Linked DNA regions of Homo sapiens: region 1 is linked to region 2. Evidence: promoter capture Hi-C in human tissues and cell types (Jung and others, 2019). All regions are on one chromosome and are shown on one strand. The core of a region is centred on a gene start or on the middle of the fragment in contact, and the rest is flanking DNA. Distances in the headings are between cores, read along the strand shown. Region 1 holds the start of PKN3 (protein kinase N3). Region 2 holds the start of DOLK (dolichol kinase).

Evidence for each region. Contacts are between HindIII fragments. The study calls those that stand out against the background at their distance.
Region 1: the fragment with the promoter of PKN3 here is called in contact with the fragment with the promoter of DOLK in region 2 in 1 of the 25 tissues and cell types used here (dorsolateral prefrontal cortex).

Annotation. Positions count from the first base shown.
Region 1 is chr9:128,698,968-128,704,220 of GRCh38, forward strand. PKN3 (protein kinase N3) reads left to right here and starts at 3,536. Exons shown (of 22, transcript NM_013355.5): 1 at 3,536-3,972. The coding sequence starts at 3,949. RefSeq lists a silencer at 3,429-3,998 and an enhancer at 3,813-4,352. The HindIII fragment of the contact is 13,608 bases long and covers 1-5,253 here.
Region 2 is chr9:128,945,022-128,950,598 of GRCh38, forward strand. It overlaps DOLK (dolichol kinase), which reads right to left and starts at 2,582. Exons shown (of 1, transcript NM_014908.4): 1 at 509-2,582. The coding sequence starts at 2,282. The coding sequence ends at 666. It overlaps NUP188 (nucleoporin 188), which reads left to right and starts at 2,678. Exons shown (of 44, transcript NM_015354.3): 1 at 2,678-2,730; 2 at 4,168-4,222. The coding sequence starts at 2,699. RefSeq lists enhancers at 1,342-1,904, 1,905-2,466, 2,328-2,397, 2,467-3,028, 2,748-2,797. The HindIII fragment of the contact is 11,289 bases long and covers 1-5,577 here.

The DNA.
Region 1 (5,253 bases), core at 2,286-4,785, 250 kb before region 2:
GGAAAATGTTTCCTCATGCAGCCTGTTGACAAGTTTTAGGTTCCTTTCAGTTGAGTTATAGTCTTTTTTTTTTTTTTTTTTTTGAGATGGAGTTCTGCCCTTTTTACCCAGGCTGTAGTGCAATGGCGCGATCTCAGCTCACCTCAATCTCCACCTCCCGGTTTCAAGCGATTCTCCTGCCTCAGCCTCCTGAGTAGCTGGGATTACAGGCATGCGCCACCACCCCGGCTAATTTTGTATTTTTAGTAGAGACGGGCTTTGTCCATGTTGGTCAGGCTGGTCTTGAACTCCCGACCTTACGTGATCCGCCCGCCTCGGCCTCTCAAAGTGTTGGGATTACAGGCGAGCCGCCGCGCCCAGTGAGTTATAGTCTTTTAAAGGCCAACTGGCTAGAGAGTTGGTTTGCACTATTCACGGTCCACTAAATGCTGAACACGAATTTCCTAAGAATTCCAGTCTTATGAAGTGTTATCACTATCAGAAGTAAGGTGCAACTACCTGGTCAGACTCATCCAGCAGTCCAGGACTTGGCTTCCCTGTGTAAGGTGGTGAAAAACACTCCCCAGGTCGGGCGCGGCAGCCACACCTGTAATCCCAGCACTTTGGTAGGCTGAGGCAGGTGCATCACGTGAGGTCAGGAGTTCGAGACTGGCCTGGCCAACATGGTGAAACCCCATCTCTACTAAAAATATAAAAAATTAGCCAGGTGTGCCGAGCGCGGTGGCTCCCGCCTGTAATCCCAGCACTTTGAGAGGCCGAGGCGAGCAGATCACAAGGTCAGAAGATCGAGACCATCCTGGCTAACACAGTGAAACCCCGTCTCTACTAAAAATACAAAAATTAGCCGGGCGTGGTGGTGGGCGCCTGTAGTCCCAGCTACTCGGGAGGCTGAGGCAGGAGAATGGCGTGAACCCTGGAGGCGGAGCTTGCAGTGAGCCGAGATCAGCCACTACACTCTAGCCTGGGCGAAAGTGCGAGACTCCGTCTCAAAGAAAAAAAAAAAAAAAAAAAAATTAGCCAGGTGTGGTGGCATGTGCCTGTAGTCCCAGCTACTCAGGAGGCTGAGGCATGAGAATCACTTGGACCCGGGAGGTGGAGGTTGCAGTGAGCCAAAATTGAGCCACTGCACTCCAGCCTGGGTGACAGAGCAAGACTCTCTCAAAAAAACAAAAAACAAAGCCACTTTCCAACCAAACTTGGAAAACCATCGAATTCAGCTTCCTGCCTGCAGTGAGTGGATAAATGAGCCGGGAGTTGAGATGTGAGCACCCTCCTATGGAGAGTTATCTCAGATTACTCTTGGCTTCCAGAAGTAACATTTAGCCATCAAGGCAAATACACATTTTAAAGTGTTAATTAGCTGGCTGGACTGATTGCACCACTGGAGAATTCCTAAAAGGTGGGGAAGGCTTGTTAGTTTGATTCCTGGGTTTTTGATGAGCTGCAGTGAGAAGCTGAGGACTTTTTTACTTCTTTATTTTACTTTTTTAAGAGATGGTGTCTCACTATGTTGGCCAGGTTGGTCTTGAACTCTTAGGCCTCAAGCAATCCTCCTGCCTCATCAGCCTCCCAGAGTTCTAGGATTACAGGCATGAGCCACTGGGCTTGGTCAGCCTTTTTGCTTCTAAATGATGGATAATAACGTTCATTTAACCTCCATTTTATTTTATTTTTATTTATTTATTTTTCTTGAGACAGAATCTTGCTCTGTTGCCCAGGCTGGAGTGTAGTGGCGTGATCTTAGCTCGCTGCAACCTCTGCCTCCCAGATTCAGGTGATTTGCCTGCCTCAGCCTCCCGAGTAGCTGGGACTACAGGCGTGCGCTACCACGCCCAGCTAGTTTTTCTAATTTTTTATTTTATGTATTTTTTTGAGATGCAGTTTTGCTCTTGTCATCTAGGCTGGAGTGTAGTGGCGAGATTGGCTTACTGCAACCTCCACTTCCCAGGTTCAAGTGATTCTCCAGCCTCAGCCTCCCTAGTAGCTGGGATTACAGGCACCCACCACCATGCCCAGCTAATATTTTTTTTTTGTAGTTTTAGTAGAGACGGGGTTTCACCATGTTGGCCAGGCTGGTCTCGAACTCCTGACCTTGTGATCCGCCTGCCTCGGCCTCCCAAAGTGCTAGGATTACAGGCGTGAGCCACCGCGCCCAGCTGCCTTTTTAATTTTTTTTTAGCAGAGACGGGATTTCACCATGTTGGCCAGGCTGGTCTTGAACTCCTGACCTTAAGTGATCTGCCCTCCTCAGCCTCCCAAAGTGCTGGGATTACAGGCATGAGCCACCATGCCCAGCCAACCCCCATGTCAAAGAACCTACTATGTGCCAGGTGCTTCTGCTAATGTCTAGACCTCAACAACTCTAATGTGTAAATGTCACATTTCGCCTCTGATTATGAAATCTGGGCATGTTTCACAGAGCCAAGTTGCCTTTGCTTATATGTCAATGCCACTTGGGTGATTTCCCATAGCAGGACAACCCAGTGTTGTCCATGGCTCACCAATTTCACTTTTTTCCAGTCCATTATGAAGGAAGTGATTAGTGCAAAGCACAACATGTGGCTTCCTTCATTCAGTAAGAGCACCAGAGCCTGTCTGTTCCAAGTCACTGTCGGTATTTGACCCTTCATCACCTTCCCACCTCCTGGAGGACGCTCCTCCACGAAGTGCTGACACAACCTCCTGTAAACGCAGGATGCCAGGACGGGCTGAATGGCCCGCCATAGACTAGGCAGTGACCAGCACACCTCCCTTGGGCTGAAATAGTGGCGGCTATTTCACCAGGTGTAAATGGCTTTTCTCCCGTGTGGATGGATGGGCTTTTTAGGGTAAAGCCCTAAAAAGTGGCACGGGCTGAACCAGCAAGCTCAGTCTGAGTAAGAGATGGGCCGGAGAGAGGTCTGGTTCATTCATCTGTAATTTGTAATTTATCATAATTTTGGGTGAGGATTTACTTTTCCACAAGTATACGTTCTTTTTTTTTTTTTTTTTTTTTTTTTGAGATGGAGTCTCGCTCTGTCACCCAGGTTGGAGGGCAGTGGCAGGATCTCGGCTCACTGCAACCTCCGCCTACTGGGTACAAGTGATTCTCCCACCTCAGCCTCCTGAGTAGCTGGGATTACAGGCGCCCGCCACCACGACCGGCTAATTTTTGTATTTTTAGTAGAGACGGGGGTTTCACCATGTTGGCCAGGCTGGTCTCGAACTCCTGACCTCGTGATCCGTCCACCTCTGCCTCCCAAACTGCTGGGATTACAGGCGTGAGCCACCGCACCTGGCCTAGTATACATTCTTGTAGTGACTAATATCTAGTCTGGGCCAACCACTCCGAGGAGAGAGACAATTTTGGATTAGCCCACATTACACCAACAACGTGCGAGACAAAGAGAGACTTGAGGGGCTTGGTCGAGGAGGCCCAGCGCGTTAGAGGCGGGAGCCAGGTTGTAGAGGGGCTCAAAGTTAGAGGAGGCGGCCAGCTCCACCGGCTGCACCCGGCTGGGCGACCCGGCAACCTTCAGGGGGCGCTGTTTCCCCCATCCCTGTCCCTAACTGGCCGGCTCCCGCGGGCGCGCGGCGGGGAAGGCCAGAGGACCTGGGCGCGGGCGATGTGCCTCCTGAGCGTCCAAACCGGGGGTGAGGCGCGGTCACGCCCAGCGGGAACCGCAGGCGCCGAAGCCCGGGTACTGGGCCCAGAATCCCGCGGAATTTTGGATCCGAGGGAGGCGCTGGGGCGCGGGACCTCGGGCGTGGGGTCCCGGGCGCTGGATCGGCGCGGACGGGAGGCGGCGCTGGTCCCGCGGGCCAGCGGGTCTCGGGAGGGGGCGCCCGATCCCGCGTCTCCGGCGCCGCTTCCCGGGAAGTTTCAAGTTTGAAAGTCCTGGCGGAGGGTCTGCGGCTTCCGGGACCGGAGTGGCTGAGAGAAGGGCCCCAAGCGGCCGGAGCGGCGCCATGGAGGAGGGGGCGCCGCGGCAGGTGAACGGCGTGGGAGGGGCGCGCGGGCCCGGGGGGTGCGAGAAAGCCTCTGTCATCGCCCCGGAGCCCCGAACCGCGGCCGCTTCCCCCGATCCTCCCCTCACCCGCGCCCCTTCCCTGCCCCTGCCCTGGCCCCGGCCCCGCGACGCCCTCGCAGAGCAGACCTGATCTCCGGGTTCGGTGGTTCCTGGACCTTGCACAGTCTCCAAATCAGTCCGCGGCTGACCCGGAGACTGAACCCCAACCAGCCCGTGAGCGAGGACGGCTGAGTCCGCAGTGTGCGCCACCAGGGTGGTCCCCAGAGTGTCCTTAAGTCGGTTCTCCTCGGTGGGGCTCCAAGGCCGACGGGAATTAGCCGGGATAGAAAGGCGGGGCACAGGGGCCTGGGGGGGTTAGAATGTGCGCGCAGCGGGGGGCGCAGTCTGTGCGCGCTTGGCAGTGGCAGGAGTCCTTCCCGGAGCACAGGAGGCACGAGGGGAGCGTAGATGAGAGGGGAGCGGCCTCCCCCGCCCCAGGGCGGGAACCTTTGGGTACATAGCGGGTTCTAGAATGCGGAGGGGGCTGGGTTTCCTGCCAGAGCTGGCAGTAGGTGCGCGTGGGCCCGGAGGACCGAGGCCATGTCTATCTGCTCCTGAGGAGGGAGAGGTGGTGTCCTGTTCCGGAGCGAGTGGTTGGGAGGGGGGCATTTGCGGACAGGAGTGGGTCCCCGCAAAGAGCGGAAAGGAGGTGGTGTGTGTGTCCATGTTGGAGTTCCAACCCAGGGCAGACGGGACCATGGGGGTGTTGCGGGGTGCGTGTAGACTCCTTGAGCGCCCAAGCCAGTCGTTTAGGCCGCCTTCAGGGCTGGGGCTCGGTCTGCCCCCTCCCACCCCCTTCCTCTGGAGGTCCCTCCGCCTGTTCCAGACGTAGCTTGTACACATTTTCCGATTTCCTGCGGGGCTCCGCCCTGCAGCGGCAGCTGGGTGACTCAGGACCCCGGTGGCCGGGCCCCCAGCTCCATGGGACCTTTGTTTGCTCCGGTCTTTGGCTCTGGCCCTGTGGCCTAGGGCGGTCAGAGGATTTCCTGAGCCTCGCCCTTGCCCTCTGACAGCTGGGCCAGCAGGCCCCGCTGAGGTCTGGGGTGGGGGGGTCCCTGAGTCTGGGGTTGCGGCCCCTTCCACTGGGCTCAGGAGAAGATGGAACACAGAGAGGTAAGATGGGGTTCCTGCAACAGCCCGTGTTGCGGGGCATCATGGGTTACCCGGCCTGAGGTCACCTTTGGCACCGGTTGGTTTGAAATGC
Region 2 (5,577 bases), core at 1,332-3,831:
GCCAAGGATTCTGACCAGATTAGTTTGACCCAGAGACTAAAGTGTTAACCATTATGCTTTACTCCCTCCAGTGTCCACTCTGGCCTCCTCCGAGGCTGCAGGGCGAAAGAGGGGGCTCTATAGCACACTCAGGTTCTTTGAGTTGCTGGACTATCCCTTAAGACTCTTTTCTTTTTAAATATCAGCAAGGCTGGGATGGTGGCTCACGCCTGTAATCTCAACACTTTGGGAGGCCAAGGTGGGCAGATCACCTGAGGTCGGGAGATCGAGACCAGCCTGACCAACATGGAGAAACCCTGTCTCTACTCAAAATACAAAATTAGCTGGGCATGGTGGCGCATGCCTGTAATCCCAGCTACTCAGGAGGCTGGGACAGGAGAATCGCTTGAACCTGGGAGGTGGAGGTTGCGGTGAGCCGAGATCGCGCCATTGCACTCCAACCTGGGCAACAAGAGCAAAACTGTCTCAAAAAAAAATAAAAAAAAAAATATATCAGCAAAACTAGAACTAGGAGAGCTTTGCTTTTTATTTTAAATCTGAATCAACTGAAAAATCAAATCTGCTTTTCACACCTTGGCTCTTCATGCCCAAGTAGCTGTCTGCTGTGGGGACTGTTCACCCTCCCCATGTCTGTTTCCTCCGTCACTGCTGCTGCACTGTAACAGCTAGGCCATCAGCAATATCAGGAGGTAGAGAGGCAGAAGGAGATTGTCTATCTGTGTAGTGTATGCTTCCAGGAGGGACACAGTGCTGATGGACCCCAAAATCCAAGCATAACTGTAGTTTAGGTCCACTCCACTGTCAAAGATTAAGATCAGAGCTACAGAAATGATCTGCGCAAATATAGATGTCATGGTCCCCTCAAAAGTCTTTTTGGTTCCAGGCCAGCGGATCTCCCCCATGGTGCTACCGAAGATGGAGGCCACAGTATCACCCACACCCACAGCCAGGACACCGGCATAGGGGACGAGGGCCCTGGCTCCTCCCAGGCTACCCTTCTGTGTGCAGGGTCTGGGGATCAGCCAGATGGGAAGAGACATGCCCAGGAGCAGGTAGATGTGTGTCAGAATGAGTGGTCCACTGTCTCGTTCATCCAGAAAAAGGGACAGGAAGCTCCGTAGAGTGTGACCCAAAGGCTTGATGCGGAAGTAGCGCACATACTCCAGGAAGATGAAGACCGCCAGGCATACAGTGGCGGCTACATAGAGCAGTGGCCGGTCAAAGATGATACCTGGGATGTAGGTGGCTACCACAATGAGGTGGAAATACTTTCGGGCGATGGTGGGGGCCTGGTGCTTCTTGGACTCGGAAGATGACCGCTTGGCATTCTGGTACAGCACCACCAGGCAGGCCAAGGTGGCCAGCAGAGACCAATAGGCTAGGAGGTAGATGCGGGTGTCTGTCTGGAAGAGAAACTGAAGAAGCCAGAGCAGGGGATTCCTGCGGATGAGCCGGTGCAGCCAGGGTAGGACCACACCAAGGCTCAGCACACAGGTCATGAGGTGGAAGAAGATGGAGGAGGCCCAGGTGCCTGAGTCCATGAAGACAAACAGAGTGCTGAAGAAAATGCCCATGAGTACCATCCCTACTACCACCACCAGCAGGAAGAAGTCCACTGGGTCCCCCTGACTTTCCACCAGTGTCAGAGAGCGCTTGATGAGCTGGTTGAGGACAAAGCTAATGCCACCCAATACCAGCAGTGCCTCACCAGGGGTGAAGCAGCGGGGCAGCAGGTACAGCAGGATCATGTTGAGATAAACGAAGATCAGAAGGACTTCCAGGACTTCGATCACCTCCCCCACGCTCAACGAGTGCTTCATGATATAAATGATAACACCTCCAGCCAAGCCCAAGATGACACAAGTGTTGGTTGGCACTGGGCGAGTGATGCCGAGCGCCAACACTGATGAGAAGAGGGCCACTGCCATGCCAGTGGCTGCCACCACAATGCCAAAACGCTCAAAGAACGGGTTCCCAGCAGTCTGGCACCGCTCCTTCATGACTAGTCCAAGCAAAGGCATGACCATGGAGGCGGGCAATAGGCCACTGTTTGCGGACATTCGGAACTGGAAGACGGCGCTTCCCTGCTGTAGCAGCCGGTCCCACTTGTATTGGACGTAGAAGGCCTGCACTGCGAGGGCCACGGCGCACCACGAGTATCGGTCCCATACGGTTGCGTGGATGCTCAGCACCACTGCAAACACTACTGCCGCCTCTGCCAGCACCGATCCACTCAGCGGAGCCCCAGGCCCCGGGGCCGGAGATGGGCACTCTCGGGTCATATCTCTAGACCTGGGGCTTCACGGAGGCCGGGGCGACTACGGACGCCCTAGACTTCGGGCCCCTCAGCCCCGTCAAGCAGAGGGAGGCACTTTCACCCGGCCAGCAACCTTCTCCCTCCGTTCTCCAGCAGCGAGGAGGGAACTCCACCGCAGGTCACTTCTGCGGCCTGGGAGCTGGCGCCCGGCCACCCCCCACAGCCTCCAACCTACGGCGTAGACGTCGCCACTCTGCAGCCTTCCTCACAGTTACAGCCGCCCCCGCTGCCGGCTCCTCACCTCTTTGGGCCTCGCCATCTTGGCACCGCCCCGCGGCAACGTCACGTGACGAAATCCCCGCCCACGCTCCGGGTCCGGGGGCGAGCGGTCACGTGGGCATGGCGTCTGGGGGCGGGGTTAGGGCGAGCGGGCGCGCGAAGATGGCGGCGGCCGCCGGCGGGCCGTGTGTGAGGTGCGGAGCGGGTCGAATGGACCGGGGTGGCTGTGAAGCGCGGTGTCAAAGCCGAGCGGAAGCGGGGCGGGAATTGGAGGCGGGATGTGGCGACAGTGGCAGGGCCAACCCCGGCTGGATGGACGGGCACCGAGACGGGAGGCGGTTACGTCCAAACGGTCCCCGCGCGCGGGGATCTGAAGAGTCTTCTTCAGGAGGGGGGCCGGCTCTTCACCCCTTCCCTCCGCGCTCGGCCTCCCATCTCCTCACCCAGGGCCCTTTGCCTTCCTCCTCTCTCACCTCCGACGCGTCTCTTGGCGCCCCACCCGCGCTTCCTTCTCCGGCCGTGACGCTCCCTCGAGCCACGGGGAGCTTTGCGGTCTCCTGGGGTACCCCCCACCCACGTCCCTGCTGCAGGCTCCCAGTGTCCTGCCCCGGCGTCGAGTGCGCCCTGCTGGCTCCCCGACCTCTCCCGCGATCTGTTCTTGTTAGGATTTTGTTTCGCGTTGAGCGGAGCCACGCTTGCGGCTTCTGTCCTCTCCGCGCCTCGTATCGTTCTTTTCTTGCACTGAATCAAGTCAGCCAGCATGTCCAAATCCTCCAAGAGATTTCAGGGATTGAACTAGGCTTTAGGGACAAGAAGATGAAATATTATATACGAAAACTACAATTCTGACAAAGTGCTTTCTAGCGTCAGACCCTGGTGGAGCGCTTCCCAGGAGTTATCTCATTCAATTCTCGCAACTCCGAGAGGCGCCTTCTATTTCACAGATGACTCAGAAGTCCGGCTCAGAGCTAGCCAAGTGATAAAGAGAGCCTTCAAGCTGAAGTCTGCGTACCTCCAGTGCTATAACCAGACCACCACGCCTCCTTCTGTCTTCCACATTGCAGCTCGAAGGTCTTCGTTCTTCCCACCACCCTCCCTCAAAGTTAAACATCCCCGTCTCTTATCCTTCCCTGTGCCAGCAGTGTTTTCCCCACTTTTTTTTTTTTTTTTTTTTTTTTTTTTTTTTGAGACGGAGTCTCGCTCTGTCGCCCAGGCTGGAGTGCAATGGCACGATCTCGGCTCACTGCAAGCTCTGTCTCCCGGGTTCATGCCATTCTCCTGCCTCAGCCTCCCAAGTAGCTGGGGATACAGGCACCCGCCACAACGCCTGGCTAATTTTTTGTATTTTCAGTAGAGACAGGGTTTCACTGTGTTAGCCAGGATGGTCTCGATCTTCTGACCTCATGATCCGCCCGCCTCGACCTCCCAAAGTGCTGGGATTACAGGCATGAGCCACCGTGCCCGGCCCTAACAATATTATTATATAACAAGATTACTTTCCAAAAATTTAACAAATCGTTTTGTATATTGAGATTTTTTGCTTTTAGAGAGCAGACAAAATGGCTATGAGGCAGTGTACAAGTTTGTATGATCAGAAAGAGCAAAATTACCTCTGTTCTCTCATTTTGCAGGAGCAGTAGAGAACTGTGGACTATTCTGCTTGGAAGGTCAGCTCTGAGAGAGCTGGTAAGTGGTGGTGTTCTTGAGTGGGTTCTCTGGGTTCTTTGTGTAGCTTTTGTTACCAAAAAAAACCTTTTTTTAAATGTAGGAAGTAAACACATTTATTTATTTAGAGACAGAGTTTCGCTCTTGTTTCCCAGGCTGGAGTGCAATGGCGTGATCTCGGCTCACCGCAACCTCCGCCTCCCAGGTTCAAGCGATTCTCCTGCCTCAGCTTCTCGAGTAGCTGGGATTACAGGCATGCACCACCACGCCCGACTAATTTTGTATTTTTAGTAGAGATGGGGTTTTTCCATTTTGGTCAGGCTGGTCTCCAACTCCCGACCTTAGGTGATCTGCCCTCCTTGGCCTCCCAAATTGCTGTGATTATAGGCGTGAGCCACCACACCTGGCCTATTTATTTATTTTGAGATGGAGTTTCACTCTTGTTACCCAGGCTGGAGTGTAACAGCATGATCCCAGCTCACTGCAACCTCCGCCTCCCGAGTTCAAGCGATTTTCCTGCCACAGCCTCCCGAGTAGCTGAGATTACAGGTGCATGCCACCACACCTGGCTAATTTTTGTATTTTTAGTGGAGACAGGGTTTCACCATGTTGGCCAGGCTGGTGTTGAACTCCTGACCTCAGGTGATCTACTTGCCTTGGCATCTCAAAGTCCTGGGATAACAGGCGTGACGGCCACTTTTTTTTTTTTTTTTTTTTTTTTTGAGGGGGGTGTCTTGCTCCCAGGCTGGAGTGTAAGTAGCTCGATCTTGGCTCACTTCAACCTCTGCCACCTGGGTTCAAGTGATTCTCCTGCCTCAGCCTCCCCAGTAGCTGGGATTAGAGGTGCCCACCACCACGCCCTGCTGATTTTTATATTTTTAGTAGAGACAGGGTTTTGCCATGTTGGCCAGGTCGGTCTTGAACTCCCGACCTCAGGTGATCTGCCTGCCTCAGCCTCCCAAAGTGCTGGGATTACAGGCATGAGCCACCACACCCGGCTACGTTTTTTTGTTGTTGTTGAGACAGAGTCTGGCTCTCGCCCAGGTTGGAGTGCAGTGGCACGATCTTGGCTCACTGCAACCTCTGTCTCCTGGGTTCAAGTGATTCCTGCCTTAGCCTCTCAAGGAGCTGGGGATTACAGATGCATGCCACCACGCCCGGCTAATTTTTGTATTTTTAGTAGAGATGGGGTTTCACCATGTTGGCCAGGCTGGTCTTGAATTCCTGGCCTCAGGTGATCTGCCCACCTCAGTCTCCCAAAGTGCTTGGATTGCAGGCATGAGCCACTGTGCCTGGTATAAACACTTTTTTTTTGTTCCTAAAACTTTATAAACGTGGTCAGATGCAGTGGCTCATGCCTGTAACCCCAGCACTTT